Linked DNA regions of Homo sapiens: regions 1, 2 and 3 are each linked to region 4. The links are contacts of gene promoters, found by promoter capture Hi-C in blood cells and fetal thymus (Javierre and others, 2016). All regions are on one chromosome and are shown on one strand. The core of a region is centred on a gene start or on the middle of the fragment in contact, and the rest is flanking DNA. Distances in the headings are between cores, read along the strand shown. Region 1 holds the start of SLC37A4 (solute carrier family 37 member 4). Region 2 has its middle 4.8 kb from the start of UPK2. Region 3 overlaps ARCN1 (archain 1 coat protein complex I subunit delta). Region 4 holds the start of DDX6 (DEAD-box helicase 6).

Region 1 (2,700 bases), core at 1-2,500, 240 kb after region 4:
CGGAAGGAGGCATGCCTGTGAGCCAGGCCAGCACCCTGTGTCCCCAGGATTTCTGCCTTTACCTCCTCTATCATGTCTGCTTGCCTGTGAAACCAGCTTTGATTAAAGGTTCAACCTAATTACTTTTGTCTGCCTGAGCCCAGGGGAGGCAGGGGTGGGATGAGCAGAGATGCCCTCTCTAGCCCTGCTCCCTCAGTCACAGAACCTTCTCATTCATTCACGGAAGGTTTATTAACTTACTAGTTGACAGGCACTGCACTTGGCACTATTAGTTTCTACACCCACTCACCACCACCGCACCAAAACACAAAGTCAGACACATACCCCGGCTACCCCACTTCTAAGCCTTCTAGAGAGGGCCTCAATCCGTGGAACTCTCAATACTTAGCACATAATAGATTTAATTGTTTCCTACAGTTGCCCCTTGTAATTCTGTGCAAGGGGGACCTCCCCAGTTCAGGTCCCACGGTGTCACACAGAAAGCCCCGCTAAGGGCTGAGGTCCTGATGGGGCCCCACAGAGCTACCTCTGGGTCCCCATTACCCTGCGACGTCAGTCTGGGCTTCCTTCGGGCTAGCTGGGGGCTGCAGGGTCTGGTTTCCAACCTGTGGGACGTTGGCAGGGGCCGCAAGCAGAGGGACTGGGCAGCTCGTGGGCGGGAAGGTGCCCCGGCGGGCTTCGGGCTGCAGGGCACAACCGTCCCGCCCAGGGCCCCGGCAACATGCCCCGGCTTTTCCGCTCAATTGGGAAAGCAACTGGAGCAGAAGGCGTAGGCGCACGCGGAGCGGGCGACCGCACGTATTCTCCCGGAGGCCCCGCGCTTCTGGCACCCAGAGGCTCAGCCTGGTAGGGGAGGGCCAGGCGGCGGGCGGGAGAGGAGGAGAGGCGGCGGGCGGCGAAGAGGCGGCGGGCTCGTGGCACCTGCCCAGCCCCGTGGGTCCTCACGCTACCCAGGACACGCTACTGTGCGGCTGGGAACCACGGGGGCCGGGGGTGCAGGAGCTGGAGAGGTGCGGAGACCACAGGACTGGCGCGATAGAAAGGGGTCTCGTGCTGGTGGTCAGGGACAGCGCCTCGGTGGCCCCAAGACCCATGAATTGTCTCTGGAACTGCAGGAACAGCTCCGGGTCGTATCGGAAGTTGGGGTTCGCCAACAATGGCTCCCCAAGACCTGAGATCCCCGCCCTCAGGTGACTCCCCTCCCCCGCATACCGCCTCCTACCTGAACAGAGGCGGGAGCCCGAATAGGACGGGGCGGGGCTAGCGAAGGCTGCGCAAGCGCGGCCGGCGGGGGCGTGGTCTTCGCCTGCTGCTTCGCTTGCCGGCCAGTGGAGTTCCCCGCCCCACATGCCGGGGACGTCGACTTACTCCCTCCCGCTGGTCACGCTGCTCCTTGGACGAACGAGCATAGCGCCCCTTAGGGGCTGGGCACGGCATGTCCAATTCTTAAGTGGTTGCATTCAACAAACCAGTTTTTAGTGAGTGCCCTCCTCTACAAAACACACCGAACACTAAGGTGATAATCATTGTTCCCAAGTTGCTCACAGTCTGGGAAAGGTGTTGTAGGAACACACAGTATTTTCTTTTTTTCTTTTTTTTTTTTTTTGAAACAGTCTCGCTCAGTCGCCCAGGCTGGAGTGCAGTGGCGCGATTTCGGCTCACTGCAAGCTCCTCCTCCCGGGTTCACACCATTCTCCTGCCTCAGCCTCCCGAGTAGCTGGGACTACGGGCGCCCACCACCACGCCCGGGTAATTTTTTGTATTTTTAGTAGAGACGGGGTTTCACCGTGTTTGCCAGGATGGTCTCGATCTCCTGACCTCGTGATCCGCTCACCTCGGCCTCCCAAAGTGCTGGGATTACAGGCGTGAGCCACCGCGCCCAGCCCACAATTTGGAATTTTAACTTGTGGTTAGATTGTTGGGGACAGAGACGGGGCCTGGAGTAAATATCAAATTCTAGTCCTAGACCCACAGCATTCTAACTGTATGACCTTGGTTAATCTCTATGAGCTCCCGTTTCCTACCAGCCTGGTAGATCATTGTGAAGACTCAACAGATGATTTAGATAAGAGCTCAGAAATTCTATAAGAGTTCTCAACAACAATGGTTTTCACTGATCCCAGTTAAGAGTTGTGAGGAGTAACAGTAGTGATGCTATTTTACAACAATGATGACTGTGTTCTCAGAAACAGAGCAAATGTTAACCCTGCCCATAGCTTCAACAGAAGGTAACATAGCCTAACAAAGTCCCCAACAGTCCCAATCAGCCAGCACTTCCCGACCTCTCCCCAATAGAAACGATATTATAAAAGCCTCAGCTTGTAAGCGATCAGGGTCTCAGCCAGACTCCTGACTGGAACTCCTTGCAGGCTTATTCCTGTGAATAAACCTGTTTGGCCGTTGAGTTGCCTCCTGTCTCTCGCTCTCTTCCCTTATATCTTCCTAACAAGAGTGGCTGAAGGAATTGTAAGTGTTCCAAAATTGAGAGCAAAGATCTTTTACTCCAGAGAAGATGGTCAGGGAAGGGAGGAGGAGGAGATGAGATAAAATAGGATGACAGGCCGGACGCGATGGCTCATGCTTGTAATCCCAGCACATTGGGAGGCCAAGGCGGGCAGATCACTTGAAGTCAGGAGTTCGAGACCAGCCTGGCCAACATGGTGAAACCCTGTCTCTACTAAAAATACCAAAATTAGCCAG
Region 2 (2,713 bases), core at 65-2,564, 160 kb after region 4:
GTCTAGGTTTTCTTCTAGGGTTTTTATAGTTTTAGATCTAACATTTATGTCTTTAATCCATCTTGAATTAATTTTTGTATAAGGTGTAAGGAAGGGATCCAGTTTCCGCTTTCTACATATGGCTAGCCAGTTTTCCCAGCACCATTTATCAAATAGGGAATCCTTTCCCCATTTCTTGTTTTTGTCAGGTTTGTCAAAGATCAGATGGTTGTGAGACAGGTTTTATACCCTTTAATTTTTTTTTTTTTTTTTTTTGAGACGGAGTCTGGCTCTGTTGCCCAGGCTGGAGTGCAGTGGCGTGGTCTCGGCTCACTGCAACTACTGCCTCCCAGGTTCAAGCAATTCTCCTGCCTCAGCCTCCCGAGTAGCTGGGATTACAGGCACCTGCCACCATGCCCAGCTAATTTTTTGTATTTTTAGTAGAGACGGCATTTCACCATGTTGGCCAGGCTGATCTCGAACTCCTGACCTCGTGATCTGCCCACCTCAGCCTCCCAAAGTGCTGGGGTTACAGGCATGAGCCACCATGCCTGGCCTGGTTTTATACCCTTTTTACAGCAGAGGAAGCTGAAGCTCAGAGCAGTTAGTGAGGTATGTAACTTGGCAAAAGTCACAAAGCTGGAAGAAGATTTGGGGTAAGTGGTTGTATCAGAGGCTACTTTTTTTTTTTTTTTTTTTTTGAGACAGTTTCACTCTTGTTGCCCAGACTGGAGTGCAATGGCGCAATCTCCACCTCCCGGGTTCAAGCGATTCTCCTGCTTCAGCCTTCCAAGTAGCTGGGATTACAGGCATGTGCCACCACGCCTGGCTAATTTTGTATTTTTAGTAGAGACAGGGTTTCTCCATGTTGGTCAGGCTGGTCTCGAACTCCCGATCTCAGGTGATCCACCCTCCTCGGTCTCCCAGAGTGTTGGGGTTACAGGCGTGAGCCACCACGCAGGGCGGCTACATTTTTTAAAATGGAGCATTCAAGTCTCCTCCAACCCTGAATGACTGGTATTTTCTCATCCTCACAGCATTTTCCAGCCTCAGGTCTCAAGGATAGAGGTGCCACCACTTCCCAATGGACCAACATTTGGTGAGCACCGCATCTTACCTCCAAATCCAATCCTCCAGGACTCCCCCATCCCTGGCTGTTCCTAGGATTATGACAATGATCTCCAGCATTTCTTCCACACCTTTATTTTAAACCATTTTTACACCTGTCACATAGTTTGACCTCCTGAGTAAGGAAGGGGTCTTCTCTTTATATACTTTATTTCCAGCTCTGTCACCCAGGCTGGAGTGCAGTGGTGCAATCATGGCTCACCAAAGCCTCAGACTCCTGGGCTCAAGCCATCCTCCCGCCATAGCCTCCCAAGTAGCTGGGACTGGAGGCATGTGCCACCATGCCCAGCTCATTGTTTTTTTGTTGTTGTTGTTTGTTTGTTTTTTGAGATGGAGTTTCGCTCTTGCTGCCCGTGCTGGAGTGTAATGGCATGATCTCAGTTCACTGCAACCTCCATCTCCCGGGTTCAAGTGATTCTTTTTTGTATTTAGTAAAGAGGGGATTTCACCATGTTGGTCAGGCTGGTCTTGAACTCCTGACCTCAGGTGATCCACCCAACACAGCCTCCAAAAGTGCTAGGATTACAGGTGTGAGCCACCACCCTGGCCTGTTTTGTTTTTGTTTTTGAGACGGGGTCTCGCACTGTCACCCAGGCTGAAGTGCAATGGTGGGACCTCGGCTCACTGCAACCTCCGCCTCCCGGGTTCACACAATTCCCCTGCCTCAGCCTCCCAAGTAGCTGGGATTACAGGCGCACACCACCATACCTGCTAATTTTTTGTATTTTTAGTAGAGACGGGGTTTCGCTATGTTGGCCAGACTGGTCTCGAACTCCTGACTTTATAATCTGCCCGCCTCAGCCTCCCAAAGTGCTGGGATTACAGGCGTGAGCCACCGTGCCCAGGCTTTTTTTTTTTTTTTTTTAATAGAGAAGAGATGTCACTATATCACCCAGGCTGGTCTTGAACTCCTGGGCTCAAGCAATCTTCCCACCTTGGCTTCCCAAAGTGCTGGGATTACAGGCTGTGAGCCACAGCGCCTGGCCATAATTTTTTTTTCAGTTTTGTAGAGATGGAGCCTTGCTGCGTCACAAGGCTGGTCTCAAACTCCAGGTCCCAAGTGATCCTCCTACTTCAGCCTCCCAAAGTGCTGAGATGACAGGCATGTGTCACTGTGCCTGGTGAGTCTGCCATTTTTTATTTCATTTTATTGAGATGGAGTCTCACTCTGTTGCCTAGGCTGGAGTGCAGTGGCATGATTTCAGCTCACTGCAAGTTCCACCTCCTGGATTCAAGCGATTCTCCTGCCTCAGCCTCCCAAGTAGCTGGGATTACAGGCATGCATCACCACACCCGGCTGATTTTTGTATTTTTAGTAGAGACAGGGTTTCACCATGTTGGCCAGGCTGGTCTCAAACTCCTGACCTCAGGTAATCCACCCGCCTCGGCCTCCCAAACTGCTGGGATTACAGGCGTGAGCCACCGCACCTGGCCAAGTCTTCCATTTTAAATGTGAGAACATTGAAGTCCACCTAAAGTTACATGGTATCTCATCAACAAGAGGACAGTAGCTGCCATCAGAGGCTGACATGGCCATGCAGCCAAGTAGACATGTTTTTCTAATTGACTGGGAGGCAGAGAGTGGCACTCTGGAAGGAGAACCCTG
Region 3 (2,700 bases), core at 122-2,621, 210 kb before region 4:
CTACAGCTTGGGCAATAGAGCAAGACTCTGTTTCAAAACAAACAAATCCTGGAATTCATCAAAGCATGATCTAAATTCTGTTTCTTTCTTTCTTTCTTTCTTTTTTTTTTTTGAGGCAGAGTCTCACTTTGTAGCCCAGGCTGGAGTGAAGTGGTATGATCTTGGCTTACTGCAACTTCCGCCTCCCAGGTTCAAGCAATCCTCCCACCTCACTCTCCCCGTAGCTGGGACTACAGACGTGCACCACCAGACTTGGCTAATTTTTTGTATTTTTTGGTAGAGACAGGGTTTTCCCATGTTGACCAGGCTGGTCTCGAACTCCTGACCTCAGGTGATCTGCCTGCCCTGGCTCCCAAAGTGCTGGATTAAGGCATGAGCCACCGCTCCCGGCCTAAATGCTGTTTCTTCTATCAAGTCATCCCTGACTGTACCAGCTGGAAGTAATCTCTTCCTCTGAATTTCCACGCACTTTATCGGTTACTCTCTCATGTTACTTAACACATTCTGCCTCATATTACAGTTATTTGTGTTTGTGTCTTATCCCTATTAAGCTTCTTGTAGGCAGAATGCTAGCCTGTGTCATCTTAATTCTCAGAAAGCATGTTGTATGTATAGTAGATGTTCGATAAATAATTACTCAGTTAATTCTTATAATATCGCAAAAATGGAGATTACCAGTACCTATAATTAGTTTTTGAACATGCTCATCAGTAAAGTGGATGGGCCAGGTGCAGTGGCTCACTCCTGTAATCCCAACACTTTGGAGGCCAAGGCGCGCAGATGACTTGAGGCCAGGAGTTGGAGACCAGCCTGCCCAACATGGCAAAACCCTGTCTCTATTAAAAATAGAAAAATTAGCCAGGCTTGGTGGTGCTGGCCTGTGCCTGTAGTCCCAGTTACTCAGGAGGCTGAGGCATGAGAATTGCTTGAACTCAGGAGGCAGAGCTTGCAGTGAGCCAAGATGGCACCACTGCACTCCAGCCTGGACTACAGAGTGAGACACTCTCTCAAAAAATAAATAAATAAATAAATAAATAAATAAATAAATAAATAAATAAATAAAGTGGATAGTAACATACACCTTTTTGTTCCTTTTTCCCTCTCAAGTTGCTTTTGATGTTTTTACCTAAATTTTACTTGTATGGTATAGAGGTGTTTTTAACTCCAGTTGGAAACCTAAGAACTACCCTTGAGCCTGTAAACATTGTTTCTAACAGGTTTATTATTAGATATGGGGTTTCTATTAAATGCAGCATGTTTATATAGGTCTGAAGTTTTGGTCTGAGCTGTCCTTTCTTTAGGTGTTCATTTGATTTGTCTTATTTCTTCAAAACCTCATAAAATTCTAACATAGAGGACCATGACTTCCTAGAGCTATGACTCTCAACCTTTTAGGGATAGGAGGCTCTACAGGGATTACATTTACAATATGCTCCCATTTATTAATAATATTTCTCATCGCATGAGGGGATTTTCTATGGGCCATTTGAAATAACTTCTCTAGAGGATCGATGCATTCCCTGAAACTGTATGTAAAATTTTGGGGGGAGAGTCAATATTCATTATTTGAATATCAAAATATTGACAAAGGCAAAAATCCATTGCCTTGGCCGGATGCTGTGGCTCACACTTGTAATCCCAGCACTTTGGGAGGCTGAGGTGTGCGGATCACTTTAGCCCAGGAATTTGTAGCCTGGGCAACATGGCAAAACCCCGTCTCTCTTTTTTTTTTTTTTTTTTTTTTTTTTTTTTTTAATAAAAAAAGAAAAATCCATTACCTTGAAGTGGCATAAATTTTTTTCATGAGATGCATGTTTATTATTACTAATGGTGCTGTTTTACATCATGAATATATGTGCTACAAGTTGTATAGCACTTCTGAAGTACAGTTTCATTATAGTCATTTGGCCCTCATAATAGCTTGTAAGGTCATTAGATAATGCTGCATTTTATAGGAAAAGAAACGAGGTTAAGAGAGGTTGGGTAACTGAAGGTCAGGCAGATAGTAAATAGAAGAACAAAACTAGAAAATAGATTTTCTCACTCCCAGTCATTTAGTTTTTCTAATATCAGCTTGGTTCTTTGCAAATTTGGGACACTAGTTCTAAGTCTTTAGGAAAAGGAGAAACCAATGTGAAATGATCCCAAATATAAGGGAATTCCCTACTTTTCTGATGAAACTATTAAGAAGGAAAGCTTTTTGCCAATTGTATAAACTTTTTAAAATGCAGCCAAAATAGGCCGGGCGGTGGCTCATGCCTGTAATCTCAGCACTTTGGGAGGCCGAGGTGGGCAGATCACCCGAGGTCAGGCATTTGAGACCAGCCTGGCCAACCAACATGGTGAAACCCCATCTCTACTAGAAATACAAAAAAAAAAAAAAAAATTAGCCGGGCGTGGTGGCAGGCGCCTGTAATCCCAGCTACTCGGGAGGCTGAGACAGGAGAATCACTTGAACCTGGGAGGTGGAGGTTTCAGTGAGCGGAGATCTTGCCATTGCACTCCAGCCTGGGCAACAAGAGCAAAACTCCATCTTAAAAAAAAAAAAGGTAGCAAAAATAGTCAAATATGTTCTTAAAATAGTTAATAATTCACTTATATGTATATGTTTTAAATAAATAAAGTTTAATTTAGAAATAATTACTTTTTTCCATTTTCATATTAATAAAACAATTTTTTCTAGATTCTTTATGAACATCA
Region 4 (2,700 bases), core at 37-2,536:
TACCCCTTCCCAATTTAGATTTGCAAGTTTTCTACATTTTCAAAAACAAAAAACAAAAAAACAAAAAACAAACAACAAGAAACGTAGACTAGTTGGGAGGAGCCCCTAGCGGAGTTAATTACAGCACTTCACAGATCGTAGTTAGCAATTGACAGTTTCACACCCAAAACAGTATCGTCATCGCCAACAAGAGCTTTTGTTTGCAAATGCAGCGCAGTTTTTCTAGCTTTGCCTGCAAGTTGGAGTGACTGGGTTTTATTCTGAAGGGAAATGGGGGCTGAGGAAGAGAAAGGAGAGAGATACGGGAAAGAGTCATTGACTAATGACTGGAACCCCGTAACTGAAAGGAAATTTCTTGTCCCCCCGCACCCCGCCCCACGCCCCAAACACACACACTTCTGACCATAAACACAAAAGGTTGGGGCTCTGCAATCTTATCTGCGCAATATGAGCCAGCAACCGCTCCATTAGTAGCAAACAATAGGGACTCCCCCAAGGAGGCCCCAAATGGACCCCCTAAACCAGAAATCCCCCTCCTTTCCTCCAAGAGTCGGGGGCTCCATAAATACCCTCTTGTTATTGACCCGCAAGGCCTACTGCAATCAAGCAGCGGCCGGTTTGCTTCTAAACCGAGCCCTCCAATACAGCATGTCCCTGCCGCCCCCTATAGGGCCGCCTCGTACCCTATAACCTCCACCATCATCCCCCTAAGTCCTTGCCGCCCCCTTCGGCCTCATATTCCCTCATCTTCGATAAAGCTACTCCGAGTACTTAGCCTGTTCCTCCTGCCGACCCTGCTGCGCACCACATTCCTATATTCGCCTCCTCTCAGGCGCTCCCACCCCACACAGCTGCCGACCGCCTTCCTCCCCAGGCCCGGCCAGGCCTTAGGCCTCCGCCCGAGAGTCCCCCAGAGCCGGCCCGGGGGGCTCCCCACAGCCCCCAAAGCACCGCTGACCTCGACCCCACCACCTCACCCCAAGCCTCGCGACTCGGGCCCGTGTCCTACCAACGAGGCCACTCCCGCTCGGCACCCTCGGTCCTTTATTGTTGACTCGAAGCTCCCAAAATGGCGGACGCTCCTTCCTCCTCGGAAACCTCCGCCCGCCCCCACCCAGCCCTCTCGCTACGGCCTCCTCTCGCCCCCGCCCCCGCCCCGCTCCGAGGGGCGCGCAGGCCAGCCGCCCGAGCCGCCGGCTCCCCCGGCTGTCCAGCCCTACCTCCTCCGCTGCCCGCTCTCGTGGCGCCGCCGAAGTCGCCGCCTGGCTGAGCTAACTCGGCTCCTCTGCCCCCTCCCTCGCTCGCCCGTTCGCCCGCCCGCCGCCTCCTCCCTCTTTCCCTGCCTCTCCGCATGGCGGCGACCGCGGCTCCTCCTCCACTCAAGATGGCGAAACCTCGGCCGCCGCGGCTATATTCGCCGCGGCGTCACTGCCTTCCTGGCCTGGTGGTGAGAGGAAGTCGGGCCGCGAAAGCTTCCTGAGGAGAAAATGGAGGGCCCTTCTCTCACACCGACGAGAAAAGTTCGAGGGGGAAATACGAGTTCCTTTCTGAAGGGACAGGACGGCTGCTTTTCCACAGCCGCGACGTGATTGAGAAATGGTGGCTGGCAAGGGTAGGCCTGCCTTCGCCCCTCCAAAGTAAAAATCGGGAGTTGAGACCAGAGGAACATCTCTTTATTACATGACTAAGGATATGTTTTGAAAACTGGCCCCCGGGCAGCTGCTCGGGGACAGGAAGCTGACCTGACTTCTCCAGCTGGCCGGGGAGGCTGATGCCGGGCCTAAGGGGCCGCGTCCGAGCCTCTCGGGGCGCGCCTCCATGCAGGAAGGCGCGGAACTAGCGACCCGGAGACGCCGGGCGCGCGTCTGAGTGTGGGGGCAGGAAGGGGGGCCGACCGGGCCCGGAGGCCGCACCAGGCAGGAGGGAGGACTCCAGAGAGTGCGCGGGGGGCGCTGCGCGGTGGGACGGGGCGAGCCTGTAGGGCGCGCCTGGCGGCGGGTAGGCTCCGGGCTTGAGGGTGCGCCTGGGGGCGCTGGTTGTGGGGGAAGGCACCGGGCTTGAGGGTGCACCTGGGCGGGGGAAGTCTTCGGGCATGAGGGCGCGCCTGCGGGTGGTATGGGGGGGTACACCGAGCTTGAGGGTGCGCCCGGGGGGCTCTCATGTGAAGGGTACCAGGCTTGAGGGCGCCCCTGCGGGGGGCGCAGAGGCACCGAGCTTGAGGGTGCGCCTCGGGGGTCTGCGGGGGGAAGGCACCGGACTTGAGCGTGCGCCGGGAGAGGACGGCGGGGGACCGGACTGTGAGGGCGTATCTTGGGGGACCTGTCTAGGAGGAACCGGGAGGTGAAGGCACAACTGGGGGTGAGGCGGGGGCAGGGGCCGGGCTGTGAGAGTGCGACTGAGGGGGGATTACTCCGGAGAGCACGGAGCTGGGGGCGTTGCGCAGGTGGAGTGGGGAGGCCTGGTGGAGAGGGTAGCAAACCGAGAGAGCGCACCGGGGTGGTGGGGGGAGAAGCTGGACTGTAAGGTGAAGAGTTAGTAGGGCGCAACCGTCTTCTCCTGCCCTCGAAGGGCAAGACTGAAGAAAGTAGGGGCGGAGGAGGCCGGGCCCTCCACTAAAGGGAGGGAAGCTAGTGAAGCGTCAGTTATAATAGAAATAGGAATTCAGTAAGGAAATGGAGAAGCTTAAGGCAAAGGGTGACT

What was found. Contacts are between HindIII fragments. The CHiCAGO score rates a contact against its expected background, and 5 or more counts as called.
Region 1: a contact is called between the fragment with the promoter of SLC37A4 here and the fragment with the promoter of DDX6 in region 4, in 2 of 17 cell types (naive B cells and neutrophils). The highest score is 5.5, in naive B cells.
Region 2: a contact is called between a fragment that was not itself captured here and the fragment with the promoter of DDX6 in region 4, in 12 of 17 cell types (non-activated CD4 T cells, naive B cells, naive CD4 T cells and 9 more). The highest score is 16.9, in non-activated CD4 T cells.
Region 3: a contact is called between a fragment that was not itself captured here and the fragment with the promoter of DDX6 in region 4, in 1 of 17 cell types (naive CD4 T cells). The highest score is 5.5, in naive CD4 T cells.

The regions. Positions count from the first base shown.
Region 1 is chr11:119,029,627-119,032,326 of GRCh38, forward strand. SLC37A4 (solute carrier family 37 member 4) reads right to left here and starts at 1,251. Exons shown (of 10, transcript NM_001467.6): 1 at 1,223-1,251. RefSeq lists a silencer at 706-865. The HindIII fragment of the contact is 18,338 bases long and covers 1-2,700 here.
Region 2 is chr11:118,950,188-118,952,900 of GRCh38, forward strand. No RefSeq gene overlaps it. Among named protein-coding and RNA genes, the nearest start is that of UPK2, 4.8 kb to the right of the region's middle. The HindIII fragment of the contact is 6,551 bases long and covers 1-2,713 here.
Region 3 is chr11:118,577,153-118,579,852 of GRCh38, forward strand. The region is part of intron 1 of ARCN1 (archain 1 coat protein complex I subunit delta); the gene reads left to right. Among named protein-coding and RNA genes, the nearest start is that of ARCN1, 6.1 kb to the left of the region's middle. The HindIII fragment of the contact is 1,645 bases long and covers 550-2,194 here.
Region 4 is chr11:118,789,878-118,792,577 of GRCh38, forward strand. DDX6 (DEAD-box helicase 6) reads right to left here and starts at 1,287. Exons shown (of 14, transcript NM_004397.6): 1 at 1,221-1,287. RefSeq lists enhancers at 1-444, 1-82, 1,393-1,502, 2,119-2,674 and silencers at 283-362, 993-1,322, 1,773-2,062. The HindIII fragment of the contact is 4,863 bases long and covers 1-1,470 here.